2 separate regions of the Homo sapiens genome follow, and region 1 is linked to region 2. Evidence: promoter capture Hi-C in 16 types of primary human blood cells and fetal thymus (Javierre and others, 2016). All regions are on one chromosome and are shown on one strand. Each heading gives the region's core, a stretch centred on a gene start or on the middle of the fragment in contact. The rest is flanking DNA. Distances are from core to core; before and after follow the strand shown.

Region 1 (5,804 bases), core at 1,028-3,527, 920 kb after region 2:
GTGTGCCTGTAATCCCAGCTACTCGAGAGGCTGAGGCAGGAGAATCACTTGAACTCGGGAGGTGGAAGTTGCAGTGAACCAAGACTGCACCACTCCAGCCTGGGCAACAGAGAGAGATTCCATCTCAAAAAAAAAAAAAAAAAAAAAAAGACTGTAGAAAGCAACTTGGAGAATAATTAATAGAAAAAACAACTCAGACAGTTTACCCATCATTAGAGCATTGATATTTCTGGGGTTGAATGCAGTAGTGGCTAGGAATGGACATTAACTTTTCACACTGAGGGGAATAACACACTATACCACACACAATGTTGAGGATTCAAATTCTAGAGAGTGTCTTTGTCATGTGTTAATGATGGATATAAAGGTTCTCTATATGAGGCCTATGATAGTCAATGGTCATTCCTCTAACTTGGGAATGGTATGGGCTATACAGATAACAGCCTAGAGAGTTAGAAGCTAACTTTCTTTCAAAAAAAGATGAGGAGAAGAAGGGAAGGGAAGGGAAGGGAAGGGAAGGGAAGGGAAGGGAAGGGAAGGGGAGGGAAGGGGAGGGAAGGGGAGGGAAGGGGAGGGAAGGGGAGGAGAGGGGACAGGAGGGGAGGGGAGGGGAGGGGAGCTCAGCAAATTCTGGGGCACAACTTACAATTTTGCCTGATGTCTTACCACACTGCACAGCTAGGAAGTTCTTCTGAAGATCTAACCTGTGTTTCTTCTGGTGTTTTTGTTTATTTGTTTACCATAGATTATTTATAGCCTTTTTCCAAACAGAGAGATACTCACAGCCCTTCCCAGTTGGCTGTTTGGCTCAGCTAACAGAGCTGCTCTAAAAGTCATGGTTAAAACTTCATTCCCCTAAAAGGGTCATCGAGTTTGCTCCATAAGAGAGCTATATCAATCACCCTTCCTAAATGACACTCTTGTCATACATAGAAGAGAAGCCAGGCAGGTGAGTAGATGCCATTATCACCACTGCTTCTGTCTATTAAAAAAATAAAAACAAGATTTCTGCCTACTCTCCAACCCAGCCAAAGAGAGCCTCAGAGTCAGACACCTGGAATTAACCCTCATCCCTGCATCTACAGAGGACGCCTGGCCAGAGCAGTGCCGGCGGTGACAGAGCTGGGACCACTGACATCTGAAATGCATCCTGCACTCCAGCCCTTATGTGGTACTTGCTTGTCTCATAAAACCATTTTGTTTTTTGAGGATGGAGATAAGGTCCTTTAACACAATTTTCAATCTATAGTTGTACTCCAACGTGTTCCTTATACATCTACAATTTCTTCTATCTTATAAAATAAAATACACCCCTGATTTCAGAAAAAAAAAAAAAAAGCACAGCATTAAAAAAAGGAATCTGAGAGGCCACGAGGCTTTTCACATTTTGCCAGAACCAGGCTTTTGTCTGTGCTGGCGCCCTGGAGCTCAGGGATTTCTTAGGAATGAGAGTACAAGTGGCCTTAGGACCTCAATGATTGGAAAGAGACACCTTGAAGGCTGGAAGGAGGAGGTAAGGGCAGAGTTGCATCCAATCTGTGCTCATCTTCCTGTTCAGAATTACCTGGGCAGGTAGCTTAACATCTCCTAACCTTGGTTTCTTCACCTGTAAAATGAGAATAATAAGACAACACATCCCACAGGATCTTTGAGAACACGTATTCAATGGAATGAAACCCTCAGCACAATGCCTGGCACCTCGGGAGTGACCATTAACGATGCCTCTTGTTATTAATATTATCACAATCATCTCAGGGGGGCAAAGTAGCAAAGACTGACCGTGGGAAAGAGAGCTGTGGGAAAGTGACAGAGGTGCTGCCATCCCCTCGGCCCTACCCATGACCCCACTGTCAGGGGTGCAGAATATTTCTCCCATTCACCAGGTCCCAACCCACTCCCAGATAGAGCAACGTGGTGAAACAATAAAAGCCTGACTCCCGCAAGATGGCACCATGACGGGCTGTGCCTGGATCCAGAGGAGATGTCTCTGTCCAGCATTTCCATCAGGCTCTTCCGAGCCAGCTCCTGGGGTGCGCACAAAGACCCATTCAGGATGGCTGGAGTTCTGAAAGCCAGCAGATGAGCCGAGGGGCCGGGAAGGGGGTGGAGAATCAGCACAGCCCCTGGCACTAACCCCACTGGGACCTGCCCTGGGCAAGCAGGCGTGGAGGGCTCAGGTCTGCCGCCACGGCTGCACTCTTTGTTTTCCCGCAGATTCCGTTCTCTGATGGTGGTCCAGGGCACCAAGGACACCAGCTGCCATGGCTGGGATTGAATGACCTCCCTGGGGTGGCTGGGAACCCCCACTCCCATAGTGCCAGCCCAATGGGCAGGATACCCAGTGGAAACAGGCCATTACTAACAGGCCTGCCATTTCGAAAGTGCCTCTTTCTGGGAAAATTGACTCTCAGAGGTTCCCACCCTGGGAAGGTACAGTGAGAAATAAGAAGCTAAATTACTATGCAGTAGCCAATAGTTATTCCCCAGGGCCTAGAAAGTGACTCTGTGCCCCTCAGCCTCAGTTTCCCCACCTGTACAATGGGGCTAGGTACAACAACCTGTTGGAACTCAAAAAGTAGCTGCTGTGAGAGAACTTATCAGTAGTAGTTGGTTTGTTCCCTTTGAACACAAATATATCAGATCTGATGCATCAAGGATATGCCAGTCCTGCAGCTCCCTGAATGTTAGAGCACAGAGGCTGCTTAATGGATCATGATCCTTGGATGCAAATGAAAATAAGATTCCCTCTTTTACTCTTTCCCTCCTAAGTCTATAAGAGGCTGTCCTAACAAGGTGACAAGCTGAACATGCAATAGAAAACTGAGCCCCTTTAGGCTGCCAGAATTGTAAGACATTTCTTGTGGGACAACAGCATTTCCCAGATGACTCAATTCAGAAGGACTAAAAGGAGTTTCTGTGACCTGAAGATGTTTGTACATCAGCTAATCTAGCTTTCCACCTTTGCTGGAATATGCTGACTGCATTTATTTCTCTAGATATCTCTCACCCAATAGTAAGACTCAGTAGAAGCACTACCTCCTCCAGGAAGCCTTCCCTGACTACACAGCTTGAATTAGTGCACTTTCATATTCTCCCACAACACCCTGGGCACATATACTTCTCTCTTAGCAATCAGGAAATTATATTGAAATTGTCTGCTTGTTAGTCTCTGTCTTCTTGGTGACCAGGTACTATACTTTACAATCTTTTTTACTCCAGTATCTAATACAGTGCTGGCATAATGCAGGAATTTAATAAGTGTTTATTGAACTACATGGATGTGTATCTCTCTCTAGAGTATTTGCTAGCATAAACCCCCATTTGTATTTTATAAGGGTATCCCATAACCTCTGCTCTTAGGAAGTTCTATCTCATATCTAACTCAGTTCTCTCCTGCATGCATATATTTCTCTTTTTTCAAACCTTGGGAGACCACAGCCGGTCACGATCCTCATTCTTATCAGAGTGATCATAGAAATCACAACTTGCACTCATCATTGTTTTTCTCTCAGGTTCAGCTTTATTTTTTTTGGTCTGAAATCAGGAATGAACTTTCACAGTCTCAACTCTGGCCATTTTTCCTTTTAACAAACAAATAGAAAAGAACTTCCAAGAATGATTTTGACCAGATAGAGTCTGCTCCTTTTAACAAGATTGTGTGAAGCACCTACTGTGTGCCAGGCTGTGTGTGATGGAGAGGGAGCAAATGCATAAGTCCCTGACATCAAGAGATCTTCAACCTAAAACAGAGAATAATGGGGGTACTGAATTTAATTCATAAAAAGTAGCACCCCACTTTCTTGTGATCCCTTGGTTAGAATCACCAACTTTTATGAGTTTGTAGAAAAGCCCAGAGTGCTAAAAAGTAAAAAGCAAACATTCCATTTCTGAGCAATTTGGGAGAAACTAAATTTGGCCCAGTCAGGAGACACGTTGGGGAGTACCTTAAAGGATAAGTGTCAAGTGTCTGTTGACATTTCTAAAGAAATCCATTTGCATTTTCACTGCTAAGGAGAGGCCGGCCTCCACTGGCCACACATTCAGAAAGCTGGCAGGAGCCACTGGTCAGCAACCCCCAATCAAACAGGCTTCCTCTTTCTGGCCAAAGAGCTCAGGGTCTGCGTGACTTGAGGCAAGTCATCCAGGGACATTTGGGATTCTGATCTAGTGAGCCAGTGAAGACGGTACAGATAAGGCCCAGACAGAAATCTGGCAGCCTAAGTAACATCTGGTTGGTCTGAGGTTTGGACTCTGGCTGGGGCCGGGAGCCCAGGGCTGGCGACTGGGGAGCCTGCACTTGGAGCTGGTGACAGCAGGTGGCGCAGGAGCGCAGAAACCAACCTTCAGTGGGCCCTGAAAGAAATCATGGTGTTAATGCCACCCCAAACCACAGCCAAGCAAGGCAAAGGCGACCATGTTGTCCTCAAGTCCTGAAAAGGGCAAATTGCACAGATGGAGCAAAGAACCATAGATGGGCAATTCTCCGGTAAAGAAAAGCCAAGGTAGGTCGTCAGAGATCTAGGTAAAATCCTTCGATGGTCAAGGACTTCAGAACTTTAGGAAATGTGCAAAGAAAATGAAAGAGAAAGACAACACATAACATTAAGTTCAGGAGCAATATAAGAGCTCCTGGAGAGGAAAGGCTCAAGTCACTTTGAACCCTTAGGGCAGCTGATGAGCCAGGTATCATTCTCCAAATAGCCTCTCCTTCCCTCCAGCAACAAAACGCAAACAGAATATTCACAACAAAAACCTCACCTATTACAGTTAGTAAAGCCTCGAAAATCAACATTTTTAAACAAAAAATGGAAATGTTATCTCCTTCTTAAAGCTAGTAGAAGGCACCTTCTTGTTGCCCCAATCTCTGCATAAGTTCTCCTCCAAAGCATATCACTGGGGGAAGAAGGGAGAAAGTTCCCCTCCAGTAAGTATCCAAGGTTCTTCTGTTTGTGTGCCCAAAATGGGACAAAAAAGCATAGTCCTACTTATCTATTTACCTAACACCATAAGTCGAGGAATTTTAAGCAGCTGATTCTAAAAGCTAGAATAAAAGCGTTACACACAAGATACGAGACAACCTCCCTCCAAAAGATAACGGGCACAAGCAGTAGACTGCTGAGATATGCAATGGAGAATCTTCCCTCATCCACTTAAGCAGTAAGGGTTGGCTTTGGGATAAATCTCAGGGAATGCAAAGAATATTACTTATTTTTCCATTTGGTTTACTTTCATGTTGTTACTTCTCTCGTGGGAAGTAGATGCCTAAGCTCTGATGTATATAAATCCATTTTCAGTGTTTACTTAAGTACATATACATACACTATAGCAAAATGTTGCTTTGCTTGAAAAATCATTGAAACATTTGATGTGTTTGCTCTCAATCAATATTCTGCAAAAAGCATCTGGGTTCGCTGCTCAACTAGGACAGTAGACAAGTCTGGAGTCTTTTCCATGAGCCACCTGCCACTTGCCAGCTCTATGGGGTCCCACATCACAGTTGTCCCAGTAGCAGACAGTATAAGGGCTATGTGATTTAGGCTGCAACAAAGGGTGATGACAGAACAGAGAAAGGCAAGGTGAATTCCCTCTGAATGTGACCAGAAAGGCTTCATGGAGAAGGACACTCCAGTTGTTTGACTACTCCATGCCTTTGGACATGTTTTTTTTTTTTTTTTTTTTTTTTTTTTTTTTGCCTGAAATGCCATTCCTCAACTCCCACCATCATCCTTTTGGGGGAATTTCCAGTTTCCTTCAAAACTAAGTTCTGATGTTATCTAGAGCCCTCCCTGACCATCACTTTGCCC
Region 2 (5,599 bases), core at 647-3,146:
ATGAAGCCGGAAGCCATCATTCTCAGCAAAATAACACAGAACAAAAAACCAAACACCACATATTCTCATTGAGTATGTGGGAGTTGTTCAACTGTGGGAGTTGAACAATGAGAACACATGGACACAGGGAGGGAAACATCACACACCGGGGCCTGTCAGGGGGTGGAGGGCAAGGGGAGGGAGAACATTAGGACAAATAACTAATGCATGCAGGGCTTAAAACCTAGATGACGGGTTGGAAGGTGCAGCAAGCCACCATGGCACATGTATACCTATGTAACAAACCTGCACGTTCTGCACATGTATCCCAGAACTTAAATAATAATTAAAAAATACACTTAAATTTATTTTTAAACAAGATTGTTCTCTTGAGGTTAACTTATTACTACTTTGAGTTGTCAGGAGTGATTGCAAATTTCTTGGGAATCCCTAAGTCACCAAGAATAAAGACCACTTGTAATAGCTAAGGCATATTCAACAATAAAATTCTAGAGATTCAGGATATTTGATGTTTGCTTATAACATTTCACTTTTGAGCTTTTATTCGTTTAATAAATGTTTTATCATCTATGCTCAATAACATTTTAAAGTGTCCATTCAAATCATTTCATTGGGCAAAACAATGTTCCTTCCCTAATTTCCCTCATCAGAATAGCCATTTTGTCTCTGTGCTCAGCCTATACCACCAATTACTGTTTATTTCCTGTCCTTGTAATAAGCAACATAGTTATTTATACATGCCCATTTCTCCCACAGCACATAAGCTTTTTAAGGTTGGGAACCATGTCTTTGTCATTATTGTAACATCTCTTTCCATTCCCGGTGTTCAGTACGATGTGTTAAACGAAGTAGACACTCAAAACTTTTTAAAATTTATTTTTATTTATATAATGAGTCTTTTTTAAAAAAACCACCTACACTATTTTAAATTCATTTGAACTTTGTCCAGTATCCTATGTACATTTGAAGTTTAACTACCGGAAAAGTCTTTTGAAGGCAGATCGAATCATGTTATTTTTTTCCCTTAAAAATCCCTCATTTCTGTCATGTATTCCCCATATTATTTATGTAATAGGTAAAGTGGCCCAGTTTGCCACTTTGAAGTTGCTGAGCTGGTATCACAAGTCAGTCCCCTCTGTTTTAATCTCTGTTTAAGGAAAGTCACTCTGAAACGACAGATCTTTTGGTTCCTTATTTCTGCTTTCCTCCGTCCTCTTCTGCCTGTGAAGCCACCCTCCTCTGCTCAGCTCTGTTTCAGGAAATCGGAGCTGCTCGATTCATGTGTAGCAAATCAAAGCCAATTAGATCTGCGTTAACCTTGGTTTTCAACAACTTGTATCGTGAAAAGGTTTCTGTCCATGTTTACCCTCATCTTGTCACCATTTAGACCCCTACATACACCGGCTCGCGGAGCCTCCAGCCATTCAGCGCTAGAAAATCGGGGGGACTACGTCTTAAAACCTTGAGCACCTGTTTGGGAACATCTGCACCTCCTCCCTTGAGGGAGAAAACGACCCAGACATTCGCGTCAAAGGAAGTGTCGTCTATTTCCCTCAACGCAGGGCACCCGTTCTAGGAATGTTTGTATAAACACCGTAAACCTGCCTGGTACCACCATGAATGACACAAGAGCTAGTTTAAAAAGAAAGCAAAGAAACAAACGCAAAACCCGAAACCGCATCCTCCACCGCAAAGGTACTCGGATGGGGCGCCCGCCCTCCCCTTAGTCAGAGGACAAAGGGGGCGTGGCCGAGCGCGCGGCGCCCACGTGACCGCGGAGAGCTGCGCGCAGGCCCTTCGCGCGATCTGCCGTCATATCAGCTTATGGCGCCGGTCGCTGATTGGCTGGCCGCTCCAGCCTCCCGGCCCGCTTGCTGGCTGCCCAGCTGCTAGGACAGTTTGCAGAGCAGTGGCGTGCGGAGCGGCGGCGGACCACCTCCAGGTGGGGACGGTGGGTGGGCGGGGAAGGAAGCGGAATACACCTGAGCGGGCTGGGCCGGGGGGCGATGGAATAAAAGAAGATGGAGAGACTTCAGCGCCTGGGACTCGGGTGGGCGAGGCGGAAGGTGTCCTCGCAGCACGGCTTTTCTCCGCGCCGCGGTTGGTTAGCGAGTGCCCTCTGGGTGCTAGGCGTTGGGCGGATGGTAGGATCGCGGTAGCATACGGATCCGAGTCCTGCGCCGAGTGAGAGGAGAGGCTGGCAGGTAGCCTGGCATCCCGAAGACTGGCGGCGAGGGCTGGGCCGGGGGACCTCGGGGCCTGGAGGGCTGCGCCACCTGGGAGTCCGGGCGGAGGGGCCTTCCGCTCGCGCTGGGAGGGATCGCGGGGCCGATAGGGAGGCCTGGACTTGAAGGAGCCGACCGTGGACGGGCTTAAAGAAAATGCAGTGTTTGATGTTGGGTGTTGCAGATCTCTTACTCAAGGGAATTCTGGTCTGGCTGCTGAACACGAATGCTTTACTTTTCCCTTCGTTCTGGGAGGGTTTTTTTCTTTTAAAGGCCAGAAGAATCAGGCTGAAGAACTGGTCGGTATCAGAACTCCTGACCATTGCAAGCCTCTGTTGCTGCGGCGTAATTAGAATGAAGGGACAGCAATCTGGGGCTGAGGAGACTGAAAGGAAAAGGGAAATAATCTGTTCCTTTTGCATCATAAAAGGAAAAATAATGTATACTGACATCCCTGTGTTACAGCAGAGTAGATTTGGAGGTGGTGTAAGTGAAGAAAACAAGACCTCAGTACATAGAGTTTCCAAACTGGAAAGTTTGTGGCAGCTCGGTACTTTTAGAGGAAACCCTCTGGAAGTTATTTGTCTTTATATCACTATCATTTTTTAAAGTTTCTAATGATTGATACCTAGTAAATAATAACTGATCCTTGATCATTTACAGAGTGCTTTTCCATTCGTTATGTAATGTAATTAATTAGCATGGGGTGGTACTCAGAATCCCTCATCTGCATATAAAACATCTTGAGAGATAACATAACGTGGTAGCAAAGAGAAAGGTTGTGGAATGTACATCCCAGCTGGTTTTTTCTGTTATTGTTGCTTGCTACTGAACAAGTTATTTAAATACTCTGACCTCAGTTTCCCTATCTATAAAGTGGGGAGCATAGAAGTACCTATCTCATAGAGGTATAGGGATTAGATGAGGTTATACAAAAATAATACCTGGTTCTCAATAAATATTAGCTATCATTTTCTATACTTTTAAAGTAGGGCAAAAAGATAATGGTAGACTGAGTTGTTCTAAGCCTAATATTGTTATTATAACTGAGTTTTAAGAAGAAGTTTCTTTAATTCTGCAAGGACAAAGTATTTAAGTTTCTGTTTGAAGCAGTGGTACTTAATTTAGGGTCCTTGGGACCCCTAACTTCAGGGCTTATAACCCCTTAAAATTATATGAGCTTGTAGAGGCACTGAACATTTTTAAAAATTCAGGAGTTGACGACTTGAAGTAGTGGTGAAGAGGCTATAGAACTTGGCAGAAGTTCACGTACTTTGCAACTAGATTGTGTGTATTTGAATCCTAGCTCCAGCATTTATTTACTCTTATGACCCTATGCAAGTTACTTAAAATTTCTGTGCCCAGCTTCTTCATCTATAAAATAATACTAGTACCTACCTTTGAGGCTTCTTGAAAGGGAAAATTAGTTAATATATTTAAAATATTTATATTACCTAGTATATATTAAATATTACTATCAACTACTGTCAGTTATTTTTCAAACAAAAATCAAGTGGCACCTATTTTATCTTCTATTGAAGTAATTTTGACGCATTTTTGACGGCCTTAACAGTGATAATCATATAGATGCTATTTTATTGAGTACCTTTCTTGGGTCAAATGTCAAAAGTCTACTTAGTCTCTAAACCTCACAGCAATCAAACATGTTTGTGTTCTTTTTGGTTGCACGATACTATTCTAGGTATTGTATTGAAGTAGGGCCACATGGCACTGTGGGGAACATGTAGATTGGCTCATCAGCTGTTACCAACCTTTAGTGATATAGCAATATCCTTTTCAATTATTAAATGTTTATGTTATCTGATATTACGTAGTACCCTGTCCCTGCTACACCACCTCCCTTGGCAGTCTTCACCCCTATAACTTCAACTACTACCTGTATACTAACCAGGCTCGCTTTTGAACTTCACATTTATATTTACATGTGGCCTATTGCTTATATCTAAGATAGAAGATGAGCCACAGATAATTAGGTTTTAAGATCTACATTGAACCCGTTTTGAACCCCAGATATCTGAGACAGGTCTCAGTCAATTTAGGAAGTTTATTTTGCCAAGGTTAAGGATTCACCCGTGACACAGCCTCAGGAAGCCCTGACAATATGTGCCCAAGGTGGTCGGGGACACAGTTTGCTTTTATACATTTTAGGGAGACATGAGACATCAATCAATATGTGTAAGAAGTACATTGGTTGGGTCTGGTAAGGCGGGACAACTCACAGTGGGGGCTTCCAGGTTAGAAGCAGATAAGAGACAAAGGTTGCATTATTTTGAGTCCTTGATTAGCCTTCCACTGAATGCACACATTTCGTCTGGCTCAGTGAATCTGCATGTTTACATAAACAATAGGGCAGAGGAAGCAATCAGAAATCCATTTGTGTCAGGTGAGCCTCAGAGGGATGACTTTGAGTCCTGTCTGTCCTTTATCCACAAAGGAATTTTCTGAGGGCAAATTGTGAGGGAGGGATGTAGCTTCTCATCCTTGTAGCTGTCTTATTTAGGAATAAAGCGGGAGGCAGGTTTGCCTAACATAGTTCCCAGCCTGACTTTTCTCTTAGCTTAGTGATTTTGGAGTCCCAAGATTTATTTTCTGTTCACACCATCATTCCTTACCCACCCCCTATTCCTACCCTACCCAAATCTGCTAGCTCTGCCAGTATTCCCTATTTCAATTACAATGACATCACCATCTACTTAGACCAGCTAAAGTCTCACAGTCATCCTAGATTTCTCTCTCTTTCACTTCCCAGCAAACGTGGGTTATCCAAATCCTGTGGGTGTTTTTACTTGCGCGAAATCTCTGCTGGCTAGTCTTAACAGCCACTGCCCGAGGTCAGGCTATCATTTTCTCTGGGTTATTCTACCACAGGAACAACCAAACTAGTCTCCCTGCTTCTCACCGATAACCCATATTTCTTTTCTTTCCTTTTTTATAGTGACGGAGTCTTGCCGTGTTGCCCAGGCTGGTCTCGAACTCCTGGCTTCAAGCGGTCCTCCTACCTCAGCCTCCCAAAGTGCTGGGAATAAGCATTAGCCACTTCACCTAGCCTAGTAGTCCAGATTTCTAATGGAATGGTTTTTATGAAATGTGGGTCTGATTGTATCTTTTTCCTACCTAGAAATCTTTAGTGTCTCCTCATAGCGTGTGAGAGAAAGTCCAAATTCCTCAGCAGGACAGCAGATCCCTCCATGCGTAGTCTAACAAATCTCCTTTACAAGTCCATCCCCTAACATGTTTTTCCCTCTGCTCCACCCCATCACCCTGTCTAACACCCACCAACCACACGCAGTGAGCCATGAATGCATCATGCTCTTCTCTTGCTTTGCAGTTGTGACTTCTCTTTGGAATGGCTA

What was found. The method cuts DNA at HindIII sites, captures the fragments that hold promoters and counts their contacts. A CHiCAGO score of 5 or more calls a contact.
Region 1: a contact is called between a fragment that was not itself captured here and the fragment with the promoter of SC5D in region 2, in 1 of 17 cell types (monocytes). The highest score is 5.1, in monocytes.

Annotation. Positions count from the first base shown.
Region 1 is chr11:122,211,279-122,217,082 of GRCh38, forward strand. The region is part of intron 2 of MIR100HG (mir-100-let-7a-2-mir-125b-1 cluster host gene); the gene reads right to left. Among named protein-coding and RNA genes, the nearest start is that of MIR100, 62 kb to the left of the region's middle. RefSeq lists an enhancer at 4,372-4,421. The HindIII fragment of the contact is 8,380 bases long and covers 1-5,804 here.
Region 2 is chr11:121,290,875-121,296,473 of GRCh38, forward strand. SC5D (sterol-C5-desaturase) reads left to right here and starts at 1,897. Exons shown (of 5, transcript NM_006918.5): 1 at 1,897-1,942. RefSeq lists enhancers at 1,639-1,688, 4,402-4,943, 4,944-5,486 and a silencer at 1,859-1,908. The HindIII fragment of the contact is 7,130 bases long and covers 763-5,599 here.